Linked DNA regions of Homo sapiens: regions 1 and 3 are each linked to region 2. The links are contacts of gene promoters, found by promoter capture Hi-C in blood cells and fetal thymus (Javierre and others, 2016). All regions are on one chromosome and are shown on one strand. The core of a region is centred on a gene start or on the middle of the fragment in contact, and the rest is flanking DNA. Distances in the headings are between cores, read along the strand shown. Region 1 overlaps CENPK (centromere protein K). Region 2 holds the start of SHISAL2B (shisa like 2B). Region 3 has its middle 13 kb from the start of ADAMTS6.

Region 1 (3,131 bases), core at 138-2,637, 840 kb after region 2:
GTTCACTGGATACAAAATCAATATATACATATTAATTGTATTTGTATTTATTAGTAATAAATAAAAATTGAAATTTAAGGCCGGGTGCAGTGCCTCAAGCCTGAAATCCCATCACTTTGGGAGGCCAAGGTGGGCAGATCATGAGGTCAGGAGATCGAGACCATCCTGGCTAAAATGGTGAAACCCCATCTCTACTAAAAATACAAAACAAAATTAGCCAGGCGCACTAGTGGCGGATGCCTGTAGTCCCAGCTACCTGGGAGGCTGAGGCAGGAGAATGGCGTGAACCCGGGAGGTGGAGCTTGCAGTGAGCTCAGATGGCACCACTGCACTCTAGCCTGGGTGACAGAGCGAGACACCGTCTCAACAAAAAAAAAAAAAAAAAAAGGAAAAAGAAAAAAATTGAAATTTAAAAGAATACCATTTAATAGTCAAAATTATGAAATAATAAAGGGATGAACTTGACAAAAGATGTGCAAGACCTGTATGCTGAAAACTACAAAACACTGGTGAGACAAAATGTTTAAATATCAAATAAATGGGGACCTAAATAAATACAAAGATGATACAGTGCTAATGGATCTGCATTCAGACTAAGTATGTTAAAGATAGCAATCTTCCACAAATTAACCTATGATTCAGGGAAATTTCAATCAAAGTTCCAGCTTTTTATGGGGCAGAATGACAAACCAATTCTAAAAGTTACATGGAAATATGAAACAATTTTGAAAAGAACAACAAAGTTAGAGAATTCATAATACTTGATTTCAAGACTTATTTTAAAGCTTTGGTAAAAAACATAATGTGGTATTGGCTTAAAGACAGAAACACAGAACAAAAAAACAGAAATATCCAAAGCACAGAATAGAGAAAAACAGAGTTCAGAAATAGATACACATATACATGGTCATTAATTTTCAACAAAAGTGTAAAGGAAATTCAAAAAAGAAAAGATAGTTTCTTCAACAAATACCGCTGGAACAGTCAGTATCCAAATGAAAACAAATGACCCGATATCACTAACTCATACTATATATACATAAACATTAACTCAAAATGGATCATGAACCTAAATACTGAAACCTAAAACTTAAAAACTTTTAACAGAAAATACAGGAGAATATCTTTGTGATTCTGAGTTGGGCAAACAGTTCTTAGATTTGAGCTCAGACCTTAATAGAAAACTTGATTAAATGGAGTTAATCAAATTATGAACTTAAGTTCTCCAAAACACCACAGAGAAAATGAAAAGAAGTCGGGCACCATGGCTCATGCCTGTAGTTCCAGCACTTTGGGAGGCTGAAGCAGGCAGATCACTTGAGCCCAGGAGTGCATACAAGCCTGGGCAACATTGCAAATCCCATCTCTACAAAAAAATACAAAACTTAGCCAGACATGGTGGTGCACACCCATAGTCCCAGCTACTCAGGAGGCTGAAGTAGGAGAATCCCTTAAGTAGGAGAATCCCTTAAGCCTGAGGTCAAGGTTACAACGAACTGAGATGATGCCACTGCAGTGCAGCCTGAGTGACAGAACAAAACCCTGTCGAGGATGGAAGGGAGGGAGGGAGGGAGGTGAAAAGACAGTTGTGCAGGAAAGAGTTAACTCAGCAGACCTAGACTGCAAAAACCTTGGACATTACTAAAGCCTGTCTTCAGAACTGCCCTTGGTCAGTTCCCTGAAAAAAAGCTCTGAGCCCTTGGAATACTCTACTTGATGAGCATTTTTCTATGTCTAGAACCTTGGGTCACATGGCACCAGCTTGATTAGAGAGTTTATGCTAACTATGTGATTTGTGTTAAATGCATTTTTACTCTATGCGGATGGAGTATACATAGTTAAGGTCAGTTACACAATACCTGACTGACTCCCAATAAAAACCCTAAACAAGGCTCAAGTGAGATTCTCTGGCTGCCAACTCGCCACGTCACACATAGTTGCAGGGAGAATTAAGCGCATCCACACAACTCTACTGGGAAAGAACTCTTGTAAGCTTATCCCATGTGCCTTTTCCTTTGTTCATTGTAATGTTCTCTCTCACTTTAATAAGCTGCAACCAAGAGAACAGCAGTTCTTCTGAGTCCAGTGAGTCTATCCCACAAATCATTGCACCTGAGGGCAGTCTTAGAGAAAACTCTGACACAACTAGCATTACAAATGAGATTTCCTATAACTCCTGCTAGCTGAAACATAAGGAAAGCACTGTTTGAGAAAAGGAAGGATTACAGGGCGGGTAAAGTTTGATGTCAGATGGTTACTGAGTCACCGATGGTATAAAACAACAGCTGCACTGCGATAAGTTACTGTAGGTAGAAGTTACCAGTAAAATATACAATGATAGAACCAGCTCCTGTAGAGCTGGCTCACTGAATATACAACAAAATGTAAAATGAGAAACAAGCTAAATATACAATCCCCTTCTTATTTTTAACTGTAATGAAAAATAGCTAAAATGAAAGTTTTTGGGACAGATGCTGGCACTGCATCAAGTTTGGATTCTGGCCACTCTAAGCTACAGTTGCTAGTTTGGGGTTGCTAAGAGTTGCTATGAAAGGGAAAAATTTTGCTGGATCATCTGCCATGGGTCATTCTAAACTCATTGTGTTGGAAATTTGGTGGATCTTTTTCAATGTAAAGAATCGTTATCTTAGCCAAGCACAGTGGCTCACGCCTGTAATCTCAGCACTTTGGGAGGCCAAGGTGGAAGGACTGCTTGAGACCAGGAATTCAACACCAGCCTTAACAACATAGTGAGATCCCATCTCTACAAAAAACCAAAAATAAAAAATAAAAAAATTAGCCAGGCATGGTGGCACACACCTGTACTCCTAGCTACTTGGGAAGCTAAGGCAGGAAGATCATTTGACCCCAGCAGTTTGAGATGAGACAGCTATAATCTTACTACACTCCAACCGGGGCAACAGAGTAATAACCTGTTTCAAAGAAAAAATATATATATATGTAGGGATTGGGGGGGAGAATAATTATCTTTTATTCTGAGAAAATGTCCATGTATTATTTATTTTATTATTTCTTGCCTTCGATTTTTTAATATTCTGCAACTTATAATGGTAAAATTTCATAATTCGACTTTAGCTTTATTTCTTCTATTATTCCAACTGTCCTTTTTT
Region 2 (2,921 bases), core at 314-2,813:
AACCAAAAATGTCTCCTTATTTCCAGAATATTCTCTAAAGGGGAGTATCACCTTTGTGACACAAGAAGAAGAGAAAATAAAAGATGTAATCGATGGCTATCTTTTGGTGCGGGATCAGCCCCACCCTACTCCCTATCAGAACTCCTCCTGCCTGGAGGAAGATAACTGGGGACTAAGTCACAGGGGACTACACAGCAGGCAAGGTCAAGCAATTTCCTAACTGGTTAAAGCCGCAGTCTTAACACTGCCCTTAAGCTTCATATGGTAAAAGGCTCCTTTGTTGGTTTGAACTTCAGAGGCCTCAAGATACTCCAAGCTTGGTGAAATTTGGCCTCTGTGGTCATGCCTGTCTCTGGATTTTTCTGTGTTTTATGTGTTCCCACCAGTCACAATGGTAAGCCCTATAATTCACAAGTTTTGGGTAGAATAATTCGAAGGGTATTGCCTCAGTAGTGGGGAAAAATTCAGTCCTAAAGGCTAATCTAGTCCAGCCTAACAAATATTAAAAACAAACCCGAAAGACTCAAACTGTTTCCTGCATCCCAGTACAAAGCTCAAGAGTATTTATAGGAATGCAAAAACATCCAGTACCCAACAAGGTAAAATTCGACGTCTGGGATCCAATCAAGCCCCTGGCCAAGGGAAGGAAGCAGAAATGAAGAGGGAGAAACAATGCTCTATCTTGTACATTTTATGAATGTTATAATCGCCTCCTCTCCCATCGTAAGACTATTATTACCTTTTTGTTTATACACCCAAGCATTGTTTGGCTTATCACAATAAGCATGCATTATCATCGTTATTTTAAAAAGGCTTTGTGAACAAACCAATCAAGAAAATGGGAATATCAAACAAAAAGGAGACAAAAGAAGTTCCTACAGCACATCAAAACTGACTGAAGGTCTCTTTCTCCCTATTTCCTTTGCCTTTTTTTTTTCCTCTGGCTGCCTCCCTCTCTAGAAAGTTCTCACTTTCTTTACCTTCATGTCTTGCGTTTCTTAAACTTTCTGGATTTTTCAGCTGAACACCGAATGCAACTGCACCATGGCCAGTTGTTACAGGAGACTTTGTTTCTTGTTTTTTATTTTTAAATGGGCAGATCTTAATGTTTCACATTTACTTCTCAAAGAAAGAGAACACCAACTCCGCCTCTCTGGTGTTCAGCTGCCTTTTATCTGGTCCTCTCCTCCACTCCTTGAGTCAATGGCCGGGCAGTTAAGTCTCCACCAGACCCAGTCTGTTTGCCCAGAATCCACCTGCCCTGTCCCTAGACAGGAAAACTGCAACTTAGGCAGCATCTGCCTGCACTGAAAACATGTCCCACCTCTTCTTTTTTCCCTCTGGAGAAAGCTCTTTCTGGCATCGAGTGGGGACAGCTAAGGTCTCCAGGCTGCTGATGAAGTGAGGGAAAGTGGAGGAGAGTCGGCGCCGAGATGGGCGGATAAAAGGAGCGACCGCTCAGCAGCGAGAGGGAGAGGCGAGAGTAAGGCGCCCAGACACCATGTGGACAAGGGGAGGAGAGAAATCAGAGGTGGCGCGCGAAGGCTGAGCGCCCAGGCAGCCAGAGCCCAGATCGGAAGAGCCGAGTCCGGGCAGAGGGGTCCGCGGGCTCTGGAGGTGCTGGACGGGTGCGATCCGAGAGCAGACCGGGGCCCTCGCGAGCCTCTCCCGGCCCCTGCCCGCGATGAGCGAGGCCAGCCGACTGTGCTCCGGCTACTACAGCCTCAACCAGAGCTTCGTGGAGCCCTTCCAGTGCCCCCGGCGCGGCGAGGGGGCAGCGCTCCAGTATTGCTGCGGCTTCGCCGACCTCAAGTACTGCTGCAGCGAGCCGGGCAGCTACTTCCCCTACAAGCACAGCTACATGTGGAGCCTCAGGTGGGCTGAGAGCCCGCGCGTGCGGCGGCTGGCCGAGCCCGGGGCTAGGGAGGCGACAAGCGGAGCCACGCCAGGGCCAGGGAGGTTCCCCCGCGTCCCCGCTATCCGCCCTAGGTTAGGTCCCTACGGAAGGACGCGGAGCCTCTGAGGGCGGGTGAGGGCAGGGAGAGAAATCTCGCCCCGGCTCGGAGCTCCCCCGGGAGCCAGGACAGGAGGCGAGGCGCACGCTGGAGGAGCGCGGGCTTTGCGCCCAGGGCGCACTTGGGGCCCGCCTGGCTGGCCCCGCTGAGTTCCCCGCCCGCCTCCCGGGAGCCGACTGCTCTCCCCTCGCCGGGACCAGTCCCAGGCTGATAGCCCTACTGGTGGAGCGCGAGGACAGGAAGATAACCCAAGGGGAAGGTTTAAAATCCTCTTTTTGGTTTATCTGGTGTATTTGAAGAGAAAGGAGGCTCCTATGGGGCTCTTCTTACTGCATTAACAAGGACCAGAGTATTTTAAGACTCTTTGAGGGGTGTGAAGGAATTGGCTGTGTTCTTTAAAATACATGTATATTTTTAAAAGTGTGTGTGTGTGTGTGTGTGTGTGTGTTCCTGAGGGCCTGTGCAAGCAACTGGGCTTTACGACTTGCACTTTTTGGAGGATCTGACCCCTACCCTGGAGAGAATTGAAGCGACACCAAGAAAGGTACAGCTTTTGGTTGCTATGATTATACACACACTCTGTAGAACAGGACACCCCCTTTCTTGAAACCCGAGCCATGTGGCTATTGCTGGAATGTGAAGAGACTTTCTAAGGTGAGGTCTTTCTTGTTTCTTTTTCCCATAGTGGCAATTTTATTTTACTTATTCCAACTAGTATTGATGTAGACATTTTCATTATGAATTGCTTTTCCCACTTCCACTCTGAAGGGCTGCAAACTTTAAACTTGATTTTTCATTTTGCTTGAAGAATGAATGGGGTTCAACAATCAAGGAACGAGCTCCCACCTTAAATTGTTTTGTACATATTCATTAGTTTATGGGGTTGGAGGAGATGGAGTCTGCTAG
Region 3 (3,246 bases), core at 468-2,967, 800 kb after region 2:
AAATAATAAAGAAATGCATGGCTGGGCATAGTGGCTGTAATCCCAGCACTTTGGGAGGCCAAGGTGGAAGATTGCTTAAGCCCAGGAGTTCAAGACCAGCCTGGGCAACATATGGGGACCCTGTCTCTACAAAACATAATTTAAAATAAAATTTTTAAAAAAGAATACATAAGACCTAGTATTTGCTAGTTCAAGACCTAGTATTTGCTAGGGTGATTACAGTCAAATATAATTTAATGGTAGATTTTTAAATAACCAAAAAAGTATAATTAGATTGTTTGTAACACAAGAGAGAAATGCTGGAAGTGATGGATATCACATTTACCCTGATGTGATTATTACACATTGTATGCCTGTATCAAAATATCTCATGTGCCCTATAAATATATACACCTACTATGTGCCCATAAAAATAAAAAATAAAAAATAAATTAAAAAATAAAAACAGAATGAAAGATATAGAAAATAAACGTGTATTTTTTCAGTTTTGAGAAGGCAAGCTAATTAGAAAAAAAAACTTAATTCCTCATCTTATGTCATTTGCCAAAAATCCTTCTAAATATACATAAAATGAGCAAACAGATGAAAATTAATTATTGATATGAGGGTTAGAACCTGGGATCCAATCTCAAAATTAGTCATATTCCTGAAAAATGGATTCAGAACAACTGTACAAAAACAGACAAATACATACCAGAAAAAAACCTTCCTGAATTTAAGAATGACTTAAATTAGAAGATTAAAAGTTTCATTCTTTTCCTGGTAAAATCAATGTAAAGAAACCAAAACCTAGACATATCCTGGTAAAATGTTTAAATGTTTAAAAGAAAAAAAAAGCTAAAAAATTGTTTGTTGAAAAAAAAAGAGAGAGACATGAGACCATCATTCAAGAGTAAAAAGTAGACTTTTCATAAAACAAAAAGTCATACGCTTTTTACCACAGAACAGAAAGACATTCTATGATGTGTAAAGGCTTAACATCCTTCCTTCCTTCATTCATTCATTTATTATTTTATGCAGGCAATATTTATTGAATACTGACTATAAGATATGTATTTGAAAGTAATTATTGAAGGCATATATCAGCAGTCTAAGTGATATAAAAAATAACAACTCAAAAATGGGAGAAATTGACATATAAAAGGACCAGCAATAAGAAAAAAAATCAATTTAACAGAGTTAAGATTAAATCACAGTTACAAAAATAATTACAAAAGGCTGGGTGCAGTGGCTCACGCCTGTAATCCCAGCACTTTGGAAGGCTGAGGTGGGTGAATCACTTGAGGCCAGGAATTCGAGACCAGCCTGGCCAACATGGTGAAACTCCATCTCTACTAAAATTGTAAAATTAGCTTGGCATGGTGGCAGACGTCTGTAATCCTAGCTACCTCAGGAGGCTGAGGCAGGAGAATCACTTGAACTTGGGAGGTGGAGGTTACAATGAGCCAAGATCATGCCACTGGCACTCCAGCCTGGGAGACAGAGTGAGACTTTGTCTCAAAAAAAAAAAAAAAACACAAACACACACACACACACACACACACAAAAACAATAATTACAAAAGTATATGCAAAATAAAATTGGAAGGTTAAAAATTAAAGCTTGGGCAATGATTTCTTAGGGAAATACTGCCACCCAAACCAGGGGTGACAATATTAATTTCAAATAAAGTAGAGTCAAAATAAAAACTACTACAAAGGACCAGGAGAATCATAGTCCTTTACAATGATCAACAATCCCGAACTGTTATGCACTAAATAACACAGCATCAAAATACTTAAAATAGAAACTCTTACAAACTCCAAGGAGAAATTGATAGACATGCAACCATAGTAAGCTTCTTGATAAATCAGGTACACTTTTAAAATAATGTGATAAATTTCAGGATTAAATAACTGCATTACAAATGAAGCCATTAAAAAATCTAGGGTAGCCTGGTTCAGTAGTGTGTCACTGTAGTCCTAACTTCTTGGGAGGCCAAGGCAGGAGGATCGCTTGTGGCCAGGAGTTTGAGGCTGTAGTGTGCTATGATCATGCCTGTGAATAGCCACTGCACTCCCAGCCTAAGCAACATAATGAGGCCCTGTCTGTAAAAACATGGGGGTGGGGGGACAGAAGAAAATATAGGTGAAGAATTAACTATCTGGGAATAGGTAGACCTAAAACAATGGAATAGACAACAAAGGGAAAGAATGACAGATCCACCTATATTGTTTGAATATTAGTAAATAAAAAGAATAAACAAAATTAAAAGGTTAACGGCATACTGGAAAAAACTACAACAAATAGGATAGACAAAAACTAAATATATAAAGTTTCCTTATAAAAAAATATCAAAAGCTCTAGCTCCATGCTAGTGCTGTCCAGTTGAACTTTCCACTATGATGGAAACGTTCTGAATCTGCACTGTCCAATATGGTAGCCACTACTCACAAGAGCACTTGAAATGTAGCTAGTGCCAATGTTGAAATGATAATATTTGGGGTGTATGTAGTTAAATAAATTTTATTAAGATTTTTTATTACTAAAATAATTTTATCATTAAAATTTATTTCACCTGTTTCTTTTTACTTGTTTAATGAGGCCACAAGAAAATTTATTATAAAATTACATACACAGTTTGCATTAGGTGTCTATTCAGCACTGTTCTAGAATAACGATCAAGGAAACAAAAAATTCACAAAAGAAGAAATACAAACAGCCAGTAATCTATGAAAAAAAGTTCCATCTCACTTATAATCCAATAAATATAAATTAAAACAAGATTTTTATAATCAAATAGACAAAATTTTAAAAAATACTCATTGTTGGCAAGGGTTCCATTAAATGGGCACTCTCATACACTGCTGGTGGTGGTATAAATTGCTTCAACCTTTCTGGAAAGGCATTTGGCAATATTAATCAAGAGCCTTAGTGGCCAGGCAAGGCGGCTCATGCCTGTAATTCCAGCACTCTGGGAGGCCAAGGTGAGTGGATTGCTTGAGCCCAGAAGTTTTAGACCAGTCTGGGCAACATGGCAAAACCCCGTCTCTACAAAAAACACAAAAAATTAACCAGGCATGGTGGGGCACACCTGTAGTCCCAGCTACTTAGGAGGTTAAGGTGGGAGGATCACTTGAGCCAGGGAGGTTGAGGTTGCAGTGAGCCATGATTATACCACTGCATTCCAGCCTGGGCTATAGAGACCTTGTCTCAAACAAAACAAAACAAAACAAAACACTTATACTCTTTGACCTAGTGTCTCTA

The links. The method cuts DNA at HindIII sites, captures the fragments that hold promoters and counts their contacts. A CHiCAGO score of 5 or more calls a contact.
Region 1: a fragment that was not itself captured here is called in contact with the fragment with the promoter of SHISAL2B in region 2 in 1 of 17 cell types (M0 macrophages); the score reaches 6.1 in M0 macrophages.
Region 3: a fragment that was not itself captured here is called in contact with the fragment with the promoter of SHISAL2B in region 2 in 2 of 17 cell types (total B cells and M2 macrophages); the score reaches 5.5 in total B cells.

What each region holds. Positions count from the first base shown.
Region 1 is chr5:65,533,683-65,536,813 of GRCh38, forward strand. The region is part of intron 6 of CENPK (centromere protein K); the gene reads right to left. Among named protein-coding and RNA genes, the nearest start is that of CENPK, 28 kb to the right of the region's middle. The HindIII fragment of the contact is 1,208 bases long and covers 784-1,991 here.
Region 2 is chr5:64,688,940-64,691,860 of GRCh38, forward strand. SHISAL2B (shisa like 2B) reads left to right here and starts at 1,564. Exons shown (of 3, transcript NM_001164442.2): 1 at 1,564-1,875. The coding sequence starts at 1,685. RefSeq lists enhancers at 1-476, 1-277, 1,535-2,035 and a silencer at 1-277. The HindIII fragment of the contact is 3,472 bases long and covers 315-2,921 here.
Region 3 is chr5:65,493,060-65,496,305 of GRCh38, forward strand. It overlaps a transcript of CENPK not described here. Among named protein-coding and RNA genes, the nearest start is that of ADAMTS6, 13 kb to the left of the region's middle. The HindIII fragment of the contact is 236 bases long and covers 1,600-1,835 here.